4 separate regions of the Homo sapiens genome follow, and all the other regions are linked to region 1. The links are contacts of gene promoters, found by promoter capture Hi-C in blood cells and fetal thymus (Javierre and others, 2016). All regions are on one chromosome and are shown on one strand. The core of a region is centred on a gene start or on the middle of the fragment in contact, and the rest is flanking DNA. Distances in the headings are between cores, read along the strand shown. Region 1 holds the start of EPM2AIP1 (EPM2A interacting protein 1). Region 2 overlaps CLASP2 (cytoplasmic linker associated protein 2). Region 3 overlaps PDCD6IP (programmed cell death 6 interacting protein). Region 4 overlaps PDCD6IP (programmed cell death 6 interacting protein).

Region 1 (3,557 bases), core at 412-2,911:
AAGTAATTAATTACAAGCCACCAAGCTAGTATGTTTAGTTTTGTTTTACAGTATTCTGGCACAGTACAATAATAGGCCCAGTTGTCCTGTCAATTCATTCTAACACAGTAGAAACAAAAGCCAGTCTGCCATTGCTTCTGTTACTACTATTACAAGTGAAAAGGAAAAAACATCCCCAGGTTCTTGCTCCTTCTTTCATCTACCTTCCAATTCTCTTCCTTTCCTTCAGTGGTCCTTTCTACCCACTGTTCTCTCAGTCCCATTGCCCTGAATAGTTTATACTTTCACAATAAATCCCTCTAGAAACCTACCACTCCAAACTGAAGCATTCTTTTTTCTATTAACGTACGGACGTCACTAACAACTGATTTTAACAAAATAATCTGACATAACGTTTAGGTGTATTTTGGGCTTGTCTTTTTGGAAGTTTATAGTCTGCACTCACTTTTCCTTCCACATGTTTCAAATCTCTTCCCTTCACATTTTTTGTCACAGTTATAAGCTTCAAAATCCAAGGATGACCCATAAAATCTGGTATCTTCGAAGTGCGTCCTCCGAAATAAAGGACAGGAAAACACTAAGAGGGGTCACTAATTTAACAATAGGGTAATCAGAAGTCAAGCCCAAAGTGCATCAGCCTGTCCTAAAACTACAAACGATTTGTTTTGAAAGAAACTCAAAATGAATTGTGCCTTTGGATGTGAACAGATGATTTCTGGAATGAATGAAAAGCAAGAAAACAGTAACACAGTACCCTCTGAAAAAAGGTTTTTCTCCCCATCTTAAGCTTTTATACATCTTTTAACTTCGCATGTTCTGCATACATAATTTTAAATTAAGTGGCTTCCTTACTTAGTTAACGGTACCATTAAGACAACACTACGTATATTCCTCCACTTACACTCCAAACAACCCTTAAAAGGTCTCGGGGGAGAGCGGTAAAGAAACACACGGTCTGCGGAAAAGGAGAAGGCCTGACTGGCACGTCAGGGAACCCGGCGGCCTCCGCCGTTGTGGGCATGCGCTGTACATGCCTCTGCCCGGGCAAAGAGGCGTGTCCGCGCCATTGAGTGACGCGGCCCGTTAAGTCGTAGCCCTTAAGTGAGCCCGGCTCGACTCCCTCCGTACCAGTTCTCAATCATCTCTTTGATAGCATTAGCTGGCCGCTGGATAACTTCCCCCGCCGCGATGCGGTTCACCACTGTCTCGTCCAGCCGCCGAATAACCCCTGCCACGAACGACATTTTGGCGCCAGAAGAGCCAAGGAAACGTCTAGATGCTCAACGGAAGTGCCTTCAGCCAATCACCTCAGTGCCTCGTGCTCACGTTCTTCCTTCAGCTGTAGCTTACGCCATCCAGCCCCACCCTTCAGCGGCAGCTATTGATTGGACAGCTTGAATGCCAGTCAAATTTCTCAACTCTGTGGGTTGCTGGGTCTCTTCGTCCCTCCCTGAAGCGGCTACTGCCCGCTACCTAGAAGGATATGCGCTTGCGCGTTAGAGATCGCTGTCCGCTCTTCCTATTGGTTCGTTTTTAGGAGCTCGGGGAATACGAAATATCCAGCCAATAGGAGCAGAGATGCCGGAACCGGGCTTGTGTGCCTCTGCTGAGGTGATCTGGCGCAGAGCGGAGGAGGTGCTTGGCGCTTCTCAGGCTCCTCCTCTCCCCTTGCGGCCTTTCTAACGTTGGCCCTGCTCTTGTGGCCTCCCGCAGAATGTGGATGACGCCCAAAAGAAGCAAGATGGAAGTCGACGAGGCTCTAGTTTTCCGGCCCGAGTGGACCCAGCGTTATTTGGTGGTGGAGCCTCCGGAGGGCGATGGGGCCCTGTGCCTGGTCTGTCGCCGCCTCATCGTAGCTACCCGCGAACGCGACGTCAGGCGCCACTACGAGGCTGAGCACGAATACTACGAGCGGTATGTGGCGGACGGCGAGCGCGCGGCCCTGGTGGAGCGTCTGCGTCAGGGCGACTTGCCCGTGGCCTCCTTCACTCCTGAAGAGAGAGCTGCTCGTGCAGGCCTCGGGCTCTGCCGCCTCTTGGCCTTGAAGGGTCGCGGCTGGGGTGAGGGGGACTTTGTATACCAGTGCATGGAGGTGTTGCTGAGAGAGGTACTGCCCGAGCATGTAAGCGTCCTGCAAGGCGTTGACTTATCTCCAGATATCACAAGGCAGAGGATCCTGAGCATTGACAGGAATCTACGCAACCAGCTTTTTAACCGAGCCAGGGACTTTAAAGCCTATTCTCTTGCCTTGGACGACCAGGCTTTTGTGGCCTATGAGAACTACCTCCTGGTCTTTATCCGCGGTGTAGGCCCTGAGTTGGAGGTGCAAGAAGATCTTCTGACCATAATCAACCTGACTCATCATTTCAGTGTTGGTGCGCTCATGTCGGCAATCCTAGAGTCCCTGCAGACAGCAGGGCTTAGCTTGCAGAGAATGGTTGGACTGACCACGACCCATACTTTGAGGATGATTGGTGAGAACTCAGGACTCGTCTCATACATGAGAGAAAAGGCCGTAAGCCCCAACTGTTGGAATGTCATTCATTATTCAGGATTTCTTCACTTGGAACTGTTGAGCTCCTATGATGTAGATGTTAATCAGATCATAAATACCATATCCGAATGGATAGTTTTGATTAAGACCAGAGGCGTTAGGCGACCTGAATTTCAGACTTTACTAACGGAATCTGAATCAGAGCATGGTGAAAGGGTTAATGGACGATGTCTGAACAATTGGCTTAGGAGAGGGAAAACTTTAAAACTAATATTCTCTCTAAGAAAAGAAATGGAAGCGTTCTTGGTTTCAGTAGGGGCAACAACAGTCCACTTCTCAGACAAACAATGGCTTTGTGACTTTGGCTTCTTGGTGGACATTATGGAACACCTTCGAGAACTCAGTGAAGAATTACGAGTTAGTAAAGTCTTTGCTGCTGCTGCCTTTGACCATATTTGTACTTTCGAAGTTAAGCTGAATTTATTTCAAAGACATATTGAGGAAAAAAATCTAACAGACTTTCCTGCCCTCAGAGAAGTTGTTGATGAGCTAAAACAGCAAAATAAGGAAGATGAAAAAATATTTGATCCTGATAGGTATCAAATGGTGATCTGTCGTCTCCAAAAAGAATTTGAGAGACATTTTAAGGACCTCAGGTTCATTAAAAAGGACTTAGAACTTTTTTCAAATCCATTTAACTTTAAACCTGAATATGCACCTATTTCAGTGAGGGTGGAGCTAACAAAACTTCAGGCAAACACTAATCTTTGGAATGAATACAGAATCAAAGACTTGGGGCAGTTTTATGCTGGATTGTCTGCTGAATCCTACCCAATTATCAAAGGGGTTGCCTGTAAGGTGGCATCCTTGTTTGATAGTAACCAAATCTGTGAAAAGGCTTTTTCATATTTGACTCGAAACCAACACACTTTGAGTCAGCCATTAACAGATGAGCATCTCCAAGCCCTGTTTCGGGTTGCCACAACTGAAATGGAGCCCGGTTGGGATGACCTTGTGAGAGAAAGAAATGAATCTAATCCATAAGGCTTTGTAGTACAAGATT
Region 2 (3,557 bases), core at 706-3,205, 3.3 Mb after region 1:
TATAATTTAGTTACTGTTCTTTGGGTTAAACCAAGACTGAGGATGTGTTGCGGGAAGTCAGATGGAGTAAGTGAGTGTTAGAAAGATTGTGTTTACCCACATCTAAACTTAGTTCCAGAAGCATAAATTGACTTCAGTGCTACCAGTCCTCACCTTGAATGCCAGAAGATTCTCACTTCACTTCTCTGAATAGAAAGTGTTTTAAGTATCTTCTCCTTATTTTTCTAGCAGTTACCTCTGTCAATTTCTGTAGAAACCAGAAACAGTAGGAAGAGATTTGACAAGATGCTTGAACTTGTGTGTTTTCATAACATGATCGTTTGTGTATTTCAGACTAAGTTAGTTACAACTCTAAGGAAAAAAGTAGAATACCTATAAAATCTAAGGTATTCATTGCTTGGGTATGGTTTATTTCGAAAGCACTGTTATTCTTGTATTTTGTGACATTATTTCTGTTACCTTCAAAATAGAGCTTTTTTGTTTCTTTAGTTCCCATTACTTTTTCTCTTGTTTATCACTCCATAAACAGGGAGGTTCGGAGTTAGTCTCTGGCATTTATTTTTTTTGAAGAAGACTTCAAAGATTGTTTGCATTGATGATTACAGTCTGAATATTGCAAGTATGGTCAAATGTGAAAGTTAAAGTCATATTGGTCATAATGTTTTTGATGATAATATGCTGTCACTGAAAAATTCCTTAATGAATTAATTAACAAGAGGATGCTAGAAGAAGGAAACCTATTTATCACGTTGGAAAATCCCAGGGCCCAGGCCTCCTCTTCCCTGTTTTTATTCTCTCTTTCTTAGTGATCCAACCCCACTCAAAGGCTTTAAATGATAACTCTTTGCTAATGATTCCCAGTATGTAGGTCTAGCCATCATTCATCTCTCCTTTGGGTTAGGTCTAGACTTGTTAGCCTGTGGCCTTGATGACGTTCCCATTTGGCTGCCTAATAGGCATTTCAAGCTTCCTATGTCCAAAAATGAAACCCTGTTATCTTTTCTTGCCTCTCAGATCTGTTCCTTCTCCAGTCTTAGCCATTTTAGTCAGTGGCACCATCATCAGCTCAAGCTAGAAACCTGACTTGATTTCCTATTCTAACTGATCAAACATTTCTACTTCTGAAATACTAACATATCCCAAATTTGCTTATTTTTTCCATCTCCACTGCTAATATCCTCTCTAAATCTCCTTTAGCTTTTGCCTGGACTACTTCTGTAGACTTCTGTTCCATGTTTGCCCCCAGGAATCCATTTGCTACTCAGAAATCATAGGGATCTTCTTAAAATGTAAATTAGATCATGTCACAACAGGAAGAAGATAATGAAATTTCTCCCCTTAAGGAGCCTATAATCTAGTGATGGAGATAGATCATAAACAAGTAAATAAATGGATATACAATGTGGTTACAGTTGGTAATGGAGGAAATATAACTACTCCTTGTTTAATGAGTTTAAATTATTCCTAAATACCCTGCTGCCAAGTGAAAGACCATTAGATGAAAAAATTATTTTCACCAGTGTTAATGAGAAAAATTACGGTGTGTTTCATCCCAGCCCATGATACTTGAGTAGTTTTCCCAGGTAGAAAAATATATCAATTGAATACTGAAAACAAATTTTTATAAGTAACAATTTGAAGGGAAATTGTACATGAAGTAATATCATGGAGTTTAATTCAACTTCTTCTTTATTTCTGCACAATTTTTCCCCACAAAATTTTCAGGCCTTTGTTGATTCATTTTTATTGCACACTAAAACTAAAACTAAAACTGTAAATAAAGTGATAGAAACAGGAAAACATTTTAGGACAGAGTAAAGGCTCGGCATGAAATCTTGTGGAAATAGTTCATGCACACAAAGAGCTGTTGAAGATACTACCTTTTCTCTCCCTCACTTGGTGCATTTATGCAAAATAAATTGTTTTGGGTCTGTCCAAAAATGGCACGCAATTCAAATTTGTTCCACCTGATATTCTGTGACCAGAAACTATTATGGTAAACAAAATTTTTTGGTGTGTCTTTGCCTGAAACCATAATAATGACACATCATACATCTTACAGCATATTGATTTAGAGTGTTTCGTGATGAAAAAAATCATTTTACTAAATACAAGAAACCAAAGGATTTGTTGTAAAGGTGATATAACTTTTTTATAGCTAAAAGTTGTCATCTGAACAGTCATTAAGTGAGTTATAGAGTATTTGATGGTTTTTTGAACTCAACTTGTTATATTGTAAAAGTAAGTTAGGCAGAGTCCCTAAATGCAGTAGAATTAGCTCTGCTGTTAGAAGAAAACTGGATTTAAAATCTGTCAGATCGTGACTAGAAGGAGGGAACACCAGCCCTGTAGGAAAGAAAAGACTGAAAGTTGGAGACCCCCTGCGATTATGGCAGGCGCTGGTGTCGTTATGGAGCTTTCTAGACAGTCTCCTGCACAAACCAAGGATGTAAACACTAACAGTGTTGGTGGCTGTAATTGCAAATCCTTTTCTCTTTCACTGTGAAAAAAACTATGCATAATTCTTATTTGTCGAGTGTGTGTTTAGGACCTAATGCAGTCTTGGCCATGCAATCATTAGTAAAGTATTTTCTGGCTTCTCTGTTTGAAACAGTTGCTAGGAAAAGAATTGTTCTTGGAGGCTGGCAATAAAATAAAACCTGGAAATGAGGCTTTGAAATTACCTTAATATTTGGCTTCTATGAGTCAATAAGATAACTTCCAGTCTAGTTTTGTATATTTTTATAACATACCCTTTGGTGAAAAGCAAAGCAGCTCTTTTCTTTGGTTGATTTTTAAAATGTATCTGTTTGTGATCATGAGCTCCAGGGCCTGCCTTCAGAGCTTGACAATGTGCTGATGGTTGTCAGCTTGGATAGAGGGTGCTCTGCGCCCCTGCAGCTGCGCATTGGCTAGGTTCTGTCTCCACCAGAAGTAAGCTTTGTTCCGTGTGGCCCTGCTGTCCGCGCACAGAGCAGCCTTTGATGGGCTGCCTTTGACGTGATTTGTTTACGGCAGCCAGAAATGCTTCCTGCATAATGAGAGCAGTTAATCATGGAAACTGGGCTATTCCTGTTTATGCACTTCTAGCAATCTTCTGTTGTAAATATTAAAAGGTAACGACAAAAGGATGAAAACCTTTTTAAAAAGGCGCAAATCAGTTAATCCATCAGATCATGTGATTGCTACTGATTACATGGATATCTTTAGGGAAGCAGAAAATGATTGCTGAACACATGCCTTGTGTTTTGATGATTGCATTAAAAGTCCCCCAGCGGGATGGCATTTATTGGCTCTCAGAGCTTTTCTTAGATTAAATTTCAGGCAGCCAGTACAAGGAGAAACATCATAACCTGTATCCAACAGCATATGTGCAGCTAAAGAGTAATCTTAATCAAGTCCTTCTAGGCTGTGCTAAATAAACGAGGGTTTTCAGCAAGACCCCAGACTTTTATTTTGAAGTGGAGTAGCAGCTGTTGGCTATTGCGGTGCAGAGCTGCAGCGAGGCCTGGGTCACACAGTGCTCCGGGTGTCTGCAGGCTGCAGGCCGAGCCCAG
Region 3 (3,557 bases), core at 354-2,853, 3.2 Mb after region 1:
AACGGGAAATGACACACAGGATATAAGAGGTTTCAACAAAATTTACTAAAAGGTGAAAAGTGAATGAAAAAGAGAAAGCCAAAATCTAACTGGCTAAGAGGGAAGGGAGCCAAAGCAGAAGCCAAATCATGCCAGAGAAGCCAGAAAAGGATCTGAATTAAGAAACATGAGGTACCTCTGAAGGTAGTTCAATGTGAGGCTGGAACGAGAAGGTATGGTTGAAAATCCTTCAAAGAAAACTTCAGGCTCCCAGATCCTCTACTCTGAAGGTAGGTTCACTCTCAAAAAAACGTCAGAGATTGGCCGGGCACAGTGGCTCACGCCTGTAATCCCAGCACTTTGGGAGGCCGAGGCGGGTGGATCACCCGAGGTCAGGAGTTCCAGACCAGCCTGACCAACATGGAGAAAGCCCGTCTCTACCAAAAATACAAAATTAGCCAGGCAGAGTGGTTCATGCCTGTAAATCCCAGCTACTCAGGAGGCTGAGGCAGGAGAATCGTTTGAACCCGAGAGGCGGAGGTTGTGGTGAGCCGAGATCATGCCACTGCACTCCAGCCTGGGTAACAAGAGCAAAACTCCACCTCAAAAAAAAAAAAAAGAAAAAAGAAAAAAATGTCAGAGATATCAAATATAACTAAGGTGGAGATCAAGCACTGCTAAGTGGGGTAGGGAGTGCTAATTGACTACATCATTATCAGTCTATCCTATTCCTTATTAACAAAACTGTGTCCCTTTAGCTGAGTATACAGCTGCTCATAATGAAAATTCCTTTTCCTAGCATCCTATCAGAAGGACACACAAAATGGCCGGTAACATATAGGCAGGGTGTTGTGGAACAGTTGCCAGGAAACACCCTAAAGGGCGAGCCCCGTGCCTTTCTCCATCCTACTACCTGGAACTTGGATATGATTGCAACCTGGACCTGAGAACAATATTCTAGGTTTCAAACAGCAGAAAGCTGAAAGGAATCTGAGCCCCAATTAACTCCACAGAAACACTACACCAGCCCTGGGCTACCAGAACTACCTACCTGCCAACTTTTTACAAAATAAAATCTTAACTCAGATAATTTGGGATCTACCACACAGAAATGAACCTAACCCTAATGCAGGTGTCATACTAAAAATAGATGTACCTGATAGACTGCATACATGATTGTTAAGATCCCCAACCTCCATTCCCCAGGATAAAATTTAGAAAGCTGATAAGCAGACTTTTTCATGGAAGACTAGAAGCTTTCTCTCTAAAGAAACTGATCACCACAAAAGAAATTACACAATGCTGGTAAATGGTATATCTGGAGCTTCAAATAAAATACAAAATAAAAATAAAAAACCAGCAGGGTTCCCATTTGATCACCCTAGGTCACCATTTACCAAGGTCTAATCAATTTTTAGTAAAAGCCACTTTATAAAGGAAGAAGTATCATATAAAAGGGTTTTTTGTTGTTGTTGTTTTGTTTTGTTTTGAGACAGCGTCTCAGTATGTAGTTCAGGCTGGTCTCCAACTCGTGGGCTCTAGTGATCCTTCTGCCTCAGCTGGAATTATGAGTGCATGCTACCACACCCAGAACAAATGAGTTTTTAAGTACTCATTCTCATTATTATAATATGCATAAATGTATATTTTAGGAAATTTTAATAGAACACCTACAAGTTAGTAATAAGAAAACAAGTCTATCACTGGAGCAATATATGGAGCTGCATATCAGGACTTATCAAGCTGGCTTCAATTATTTAGGAATTAGTTTAAACTCTGTTTTTCAAAGTTCATTAGTTTAAAAAGTTCATTAAGTTAAAAAATTAATGTTAAGTTTACACAATTATCCAAACATAATTATTAAAAATAAGATATTCTGCCGGATTTGAATGAACATCACACAACTGATTCACATCTAATTTTACAGCGTATATACCTACAAAACTTTTGTACCTACCTCCATTATAAACTTTAGTAATATCTCCAAGCTTACCCTAACCCCTCTAGAAGCCCAAAAAGTGAAAATACTTAATATTTGTTGAATTAATGTGGCAGGAGGGGATTATACAGAGGTGACTAAAGAAACATGGTTAGTTTCAAAGAGACTATATCTACAACAGGTCCACTACCTAGGAACAGTTCACACATTTAAGTCTGGTAAAAAGAATAAAGGAAGGAACAAATGAATTAAGTTTTAAAGTTGACAGGAGAACCGTATCCAAACCATTATCCACCAACCTCCCATGTCTGTTAGCTTAAAACCCATGCACCAAGTGCTTCTGAAGACCCCAAATCTGAGGGCTGGAACCAAATTTGATATATTCAACAAGATTTTTATCACAGGGCTCATTATACCACAACTATGTTTTCTTAATATTACTAATGGAAAATCCTCACTGAATGCTATTCATGCCTACATAAAAATTACCTTGAAATTGTTTAATTATGTTAATTCTAAAGAATGGCTAAGTATTTCTAGGTTAACTTTAAAAAAAATGCTTATGCTATTAGACTAATGATCCTTGCAGCCCAACAGTTGTAGCTCTAAAATTTGACACCAAGGGGTCTTAATTCCTCTGAGCAATCTATTCAGTACCCCTTCCTTCGGAGAACCAACCCTTCCCCAGTCCGGACTCATCTTGCTTTGATCCATGGGGTAAGGAGAAATTAAACCGGCTGGATGACTCAGATAAGGGCAATTAACTTAGCCCATTTCCCACCATCATAAATGGGTGCAAACAAACCCAGGAGCCTCCCATGGACTTCCACCAGAGCTAAGGAGAAAAGCACTCCCTTCTGTAAGATACTGAGTGTTGCGGACGATTGTTATTACACTACAGCCATCCCTCTCAATACATGAACAAAGCTTTCGAGGGAAGCATCACGGAGGCAAGACGATCTCCAGTGATACCTAAAGCTAAGGAAGGAATATCCCTAGACTTTTCAGTTAGCAGAATAAGTCTTACTTTTTTTTTTTTTTTTTTTTTTTTTTGAGATGGAGTCTCACTCTGTCGCCCAGGCTGGAGTGCAGTGGCGCGATCTCGGCTCACTGCAAGCTCCGTCTCCCAGGTTCACACCATTCTCCTGCCTCAGCCTCCCGAGTAGCTGGGACTACAGGCACCCGCCACCACGCCCGGCTAATTTGTTGTATTTTTAGTAGAGATGGGGTTTCACCGTGCTAGCCAGGATGGTGTCGATCTCCTGACCTCGTGATCCGCCCGCCTCGGCCTCCCAAAGTGCTGGGATTACAGGCGTGAGCCACCGCGCCCGGCAGAATAAGTCTTTTCTTAGCTCAAGCTAGTTTAGCCTGGGTTTCTGCTACTTGGATTGGAATACAATTGTGATTCTCCTGTGAAACAAGTAGAATATACTATACGGAGAAAACGAGATTAACAAGGTATGCAAAAGAAATGTTTAACTATAAAATCGTAAAAAATGTTCTTATAACTATTAAGTATCATGAAAGGAACCCTCATTAAATCAGCATGAGCTAAATAAGCGTTTGCTAAAATAACAAATTTACTCTACTGTGTATATATCTGTTTGTGAACAAACTGCTTTTAAACAACCTACCTTGA
Region 4 (3,557 bases), core at 672-3,171, 3.2 Mb after region 1:
AAAAATGAAAGCAGAGTCTCAAAGAGATATACGTATGCCCATGTTCATAGCAGCATTATTCACAAAGCCAAACATGAAAGCAACCCAAGTGTCTGTGATCTGATGAATATATAAACAAAATGTGGTATATACATACAATGGAATATTAGTGAGCCTTGAACAAGAAGGAAATCATATGCTATAACACGGATGAATCTTGAGGACATTAAGCTAAATGAAATGTCAGTCACAAAAAGACAAATATTGTATGATTCCACTTATATGAGTTACCTAGAGTAATCAAATTCATAGAGACAGAAATCAGAATGATGGTTATCAGGGATGGTGGTAGGGGGAGGGGGATTGTTGTTCAATTAGTACAATATTTCAGATTTGCTAGATGAAAAAGTTCTGGAGATGTATTTTACAACAATATGAAATACACCCAACACTAGTGAACTGTATACTTAAAAATGATTAAGATAATAAATTTCATGTTGTGAAATTTTTTTTAAATGCAGTCTACGACTCTACTTGTATGAGGTACCTACAGTTTAATTCAGAGACTGAAAGAATGCTAGTTGCCAAGGGTTGAGGGGGGAGGGAAGAATGGGACATTATAATTGTTTTTTTCTTTTGAGACAGGGTCTCATTCTCTCACCCAGGCTGGAGTGCACTAGTGCAATCACACCCATTGCAGCCTCTACCTCTTGGACTCAATCAATCCTCCTGCCTCAGCCTCCTGAGTAGCTGGGACTACAGGCACAGGCCACCATACCCGGCTAATTTTTGTATCTTTTGTAGAGACAGGGACTCACTATGTTGCCTAGGCTGGTCTTGAACTCGTTGGTTCAAGCAATCCTCCCACCTCGGCCTCCCAAAATGCTGGGATTACAGGCATAAGCCACCGCCCCCAGTCTGTGAAGTTATCATTTACTGGGCAGAGTTTGTTTTGTAAGATGAAAAAGAGTTCTCGAGATGATGTTTGCACAATAATGTAAATGTACTTAATACCACTGAAGTGTACACTTAAAATGGTTAAGAAGGCATATTGTGTATATTGTATCACAATTGAAAAATAACTTTTAAAAAAGAATCTACAATAGCTCCCTATTACTCACAGAATTCAATCAGTTTGGAATTCAAGATCTTGCATAATGTGCAAGGCATTGACCACTAGGCAAAATAAGGCTCCTTACAAAAAACACTGAACAAACCAATCTAGGAGAATCAGAACAACACTACATTTGTATGTTTGTGCCACAGAGTTGTACCATAAAGTAAAGCCCTCCTTGTTACAGTACTTTGGTGGCCTCCTAGGTAATAAAGGCCAGTTTTCAACTTGCTTCCAAACCAGTTCTAGTCTCCTCATTCTAAACTAAAGCAGACATAAACACCAGCTACTCTAACCTACTTTATTAAACATATGGAAAATCCAAAATAACCAGGTTGTGAAAAAAGCCTGCAGCAAAATAAAGGAAGAGCAATGCGAACTGAAAAACTAAGCCCAAAATAAATAAAGACAATTCCAGTCATAAAAGATTATATTCCAAATATCACAATTAGCATTCCTTAAAGAGATTCAAAGACAGTACATCCATAAAAGAAAAGGATTTTTTAAATTAATAAGACAAAGCTCCTAAAAATTAAAAACTTGATTGTTAAATTTTTTTCAAAAGTTTTAAGGGCGGAGGAAGGAAAAAAAATTTTTTTTCAAGTTTTAAAATTAATATCTAGGCAATCTCAGAAAGAACAGAAAGTCAAGAAAAAATATAAAAATTACGAGTGAACAACTCAGAACAACCAACATCTAATAAAGTATTCCAAAGAAAGAGAGACAAAAGAGACAAGAAAATTATCAAAGAAATATAAGAAAACTTCCCAGAGCTTAAGGGAGATATAAGTGTTCAAACTAAAAGGGCCAAAAAGAAATGCCCTACACACGAATAAAATGAAATCCCATTAAGTCTTTTGAGATTTCTAAACATGAAAGATAAAGAGAAGACTGTAAAAATATTCCCAAGAGCAAAGAAACAGATCACTTATAAAATAACAAAAATCAGACTTTTCATCAGTAACACTAGATACTAAAAGGCAAGGGATTGGCCAGGTGCAGTGGCTCACGCCTGTAATCTCAGCACTTTGGGAGGCTGAGGCGGACAGATCACGAGGTCAAGAGAACAAGACCATTCTGGCCAACATGGTGAAACCCTGTCTCTATTAAAAGTACAAAAATTAGCTGGACGTGGTGGCGCACACCTGTAGTCCCAGCTACTCGGAAAGCTGACGCAGGATAATCGCTTGAACCTTGGAGGCGGAGGTTGCAGTGAGCCGAGATCGTGCCACTGCACTCCAGCCTAGCGTCAGAGTGAGACTCCCTATCAAAAAAAAAAAAAAAAAAAAAAAAGCAAGGGATCAATATCTTCAAGTTCTGAATATAATTTTAATTAATTCAATAAATATATACATTAGGCCAGTGTGGCAGGAGAGAGCAAGGAACAAAATTAAATATCAGCCAGGCGTGGTGGCTCACACCTGTAATCCCAGCACTTTGGGAAGGCAAGGTGGGCGGAGCTCTTGAGGTCAGGAGTTCGAGACCAGCCTGGCCAACATGGTGAAACCCCGTCTCTACTAAAAATACAAAAATTCGCCAGGCGTGGTGGTGCATGCTTGTAATCCCAGCTACTCAGGAGGCTGTGGCACGAGAATCACTTGAACCTCAGAGGCAGAGGTTGCAGTAAGCCGAGATCATGCCACTGCCCTCCATCCACCCTGGGCAACAGAGCAAGACTGTTCTCCAAAAAAAAAAAAAAAAAAAAAAAACAAGAATGAAATATATTCCAAACAAGAAATAAAAGTAAACTGTTTATATATTGGATACATATCTCAGTCTATTATGTTGCCCATAAATATTATCATACCAGACTGTAGTCTCTCATTTTATTTTGACAATTTGTCATGTATAAGAGCTTTTATGAGATTTTACATATAAGAGCTATTTTATCTTTTTTTCCTTTATTTTTTTCTATCCATCTAAACTTAAACCAGGTTTTCAAAACAATATTTAATTTTCCTTTTTTTCAAAGATGCCTTTCTAAGTATTTAACTGTATTCTTGTTTCTTACTTGCTCTCTTTTAAGTTTTTCTTTTATCTTTTTTTTTTCTTTTGAGACAAGGTGTCACTCTGTCACCCAGGCTGAAGTACAGTGGCGTGATCATGGCTTATTGCAGCCTCAACCTCCCAGGCTCAAGCAATCCTCTCACCTCAACCCCCTAAACAGCTAGGACTACAGGCACACACCACCATGTCTGGCTAATTTTTTTATTTTTTGTAGAGACAGAGTTTCGTCTGTTCCCCAAGCTGGTCTTGTACTCCTGGGCTCAAGTGATCCACCTGTCTTGGCCTCCCCAAGTACTGGGATTACAGGCACGAGCCACCACTTCCAGCCTCTAAGTTTTTCAAAACGAAAATAACTCATGAAAATAACAGCTTTCTAAAATTCAAACAATTTTTCTAAACTACAAAAAAATAATTAAAAATCACCCAACATCTCATCTTCCAGAGTTAACCAGAATTT

The links. The method cuts DNA at HindIII sites, captures the fragments that hold promoters and counts their contacts. A CHiCAGO score of 5 or more calls a contact.
Region 2: a contact is called between a fragment that was not itself captured here and the fragment with the promoter of EPM2AIP1 in region 1, in 6 of 17 cell types (M2 macrophages, M0 macrophages, M1 macrophages and 3 more). The highest score is 15.7, in M2 macrophages.
Region 3: a contact is called between a fragment that was not itself captured here and the fragment with the promoter of EPM2AIP1 in region 1, in 12 of 17 cell types (M2 macrophages, M1 macrophages, M0 macrophages and 9 more). The highest score is 34.7, in M2 macrophages.
Region 4: a fragment that was not itself captured here is called in contact with the fragment with the promoter of EPM2AIP1 in region 1 in 5 of 17 cell types (M2 macrophages, M1 macrophages, M0 macrophages and 2 more); the score reaches 13.6 in M2 macrophages.

The regions. Positions count from the first base shown.
Region 1 is chr3:36,991,235-36,994,791 of GRCh38, reverse strand. EPM2AIP1 (EPM2A interacting protein 1) reads left to right here and starts at 1,661. Exons shown (of 1, transcript NM_014805.4): 1 at 1,661-3,557. The coding sequence starts at 1,715. The coding sequence ends at 3,538. MLH1 (mutL homolog 1) reads right to left here and starts at 1,274. Exons shown (of 19, transcript NM_000249.4): 1 at 1,129-1,274. The coding sequence starts at 1,244. RefSeq lists enhancers at 573-1,084, 1,001-1,220, 1,591-1,940, 2,061-2,380, 2,411-2,490 and a silencer at 3,497-3,546. The HindIII fragment of the contact is 4,668 bases long and covers 790-3,557 here.
Region 2 is chr3:33,659,066-33,662,622 of GRCh38, reverse strand. All of the region lies in intron 7 of CLASP2 (cytoplasmic linker associated protein 2), which reads left to right. Among named protein-coding and RNA genes, the nearest start is that of CLASP2, 57 kb to the left of the region's middle. RefSeq lists an enhancer at 3,207-3,256. The HindIII fragment of the contact is 1,973 bases long and covers 969-2,941 here.
Region 3 is chr3:33,799,534-33,803,090 of GRCh38, reverse strand. The region is part of intron 1 of PDCD6IP (programmed cell death 6 interacting protein); the gene reads right to left. Among named protein-coding and RNA genes, the nearest start is that of PDCD6IP, 2.7 kb to the right of the region's middle. The HindIII fragment of the contact is 732 bases long and covers 1,238-1,969 here.
Region 4 is chr3:33,817,343-33,820,899 of GRCh38, reverse strand. The region is part of intron 3 of PDCD6IP (programmed cell death 6 interacting protein); the gene reads right to left. Among named protein-coding and RNA genes, the nearest start is that of PDCD6IP, 20 kb to the right of the region's middle. The HindIII fragment of the contact is 5,968 bases long and covers 1-3,557 here.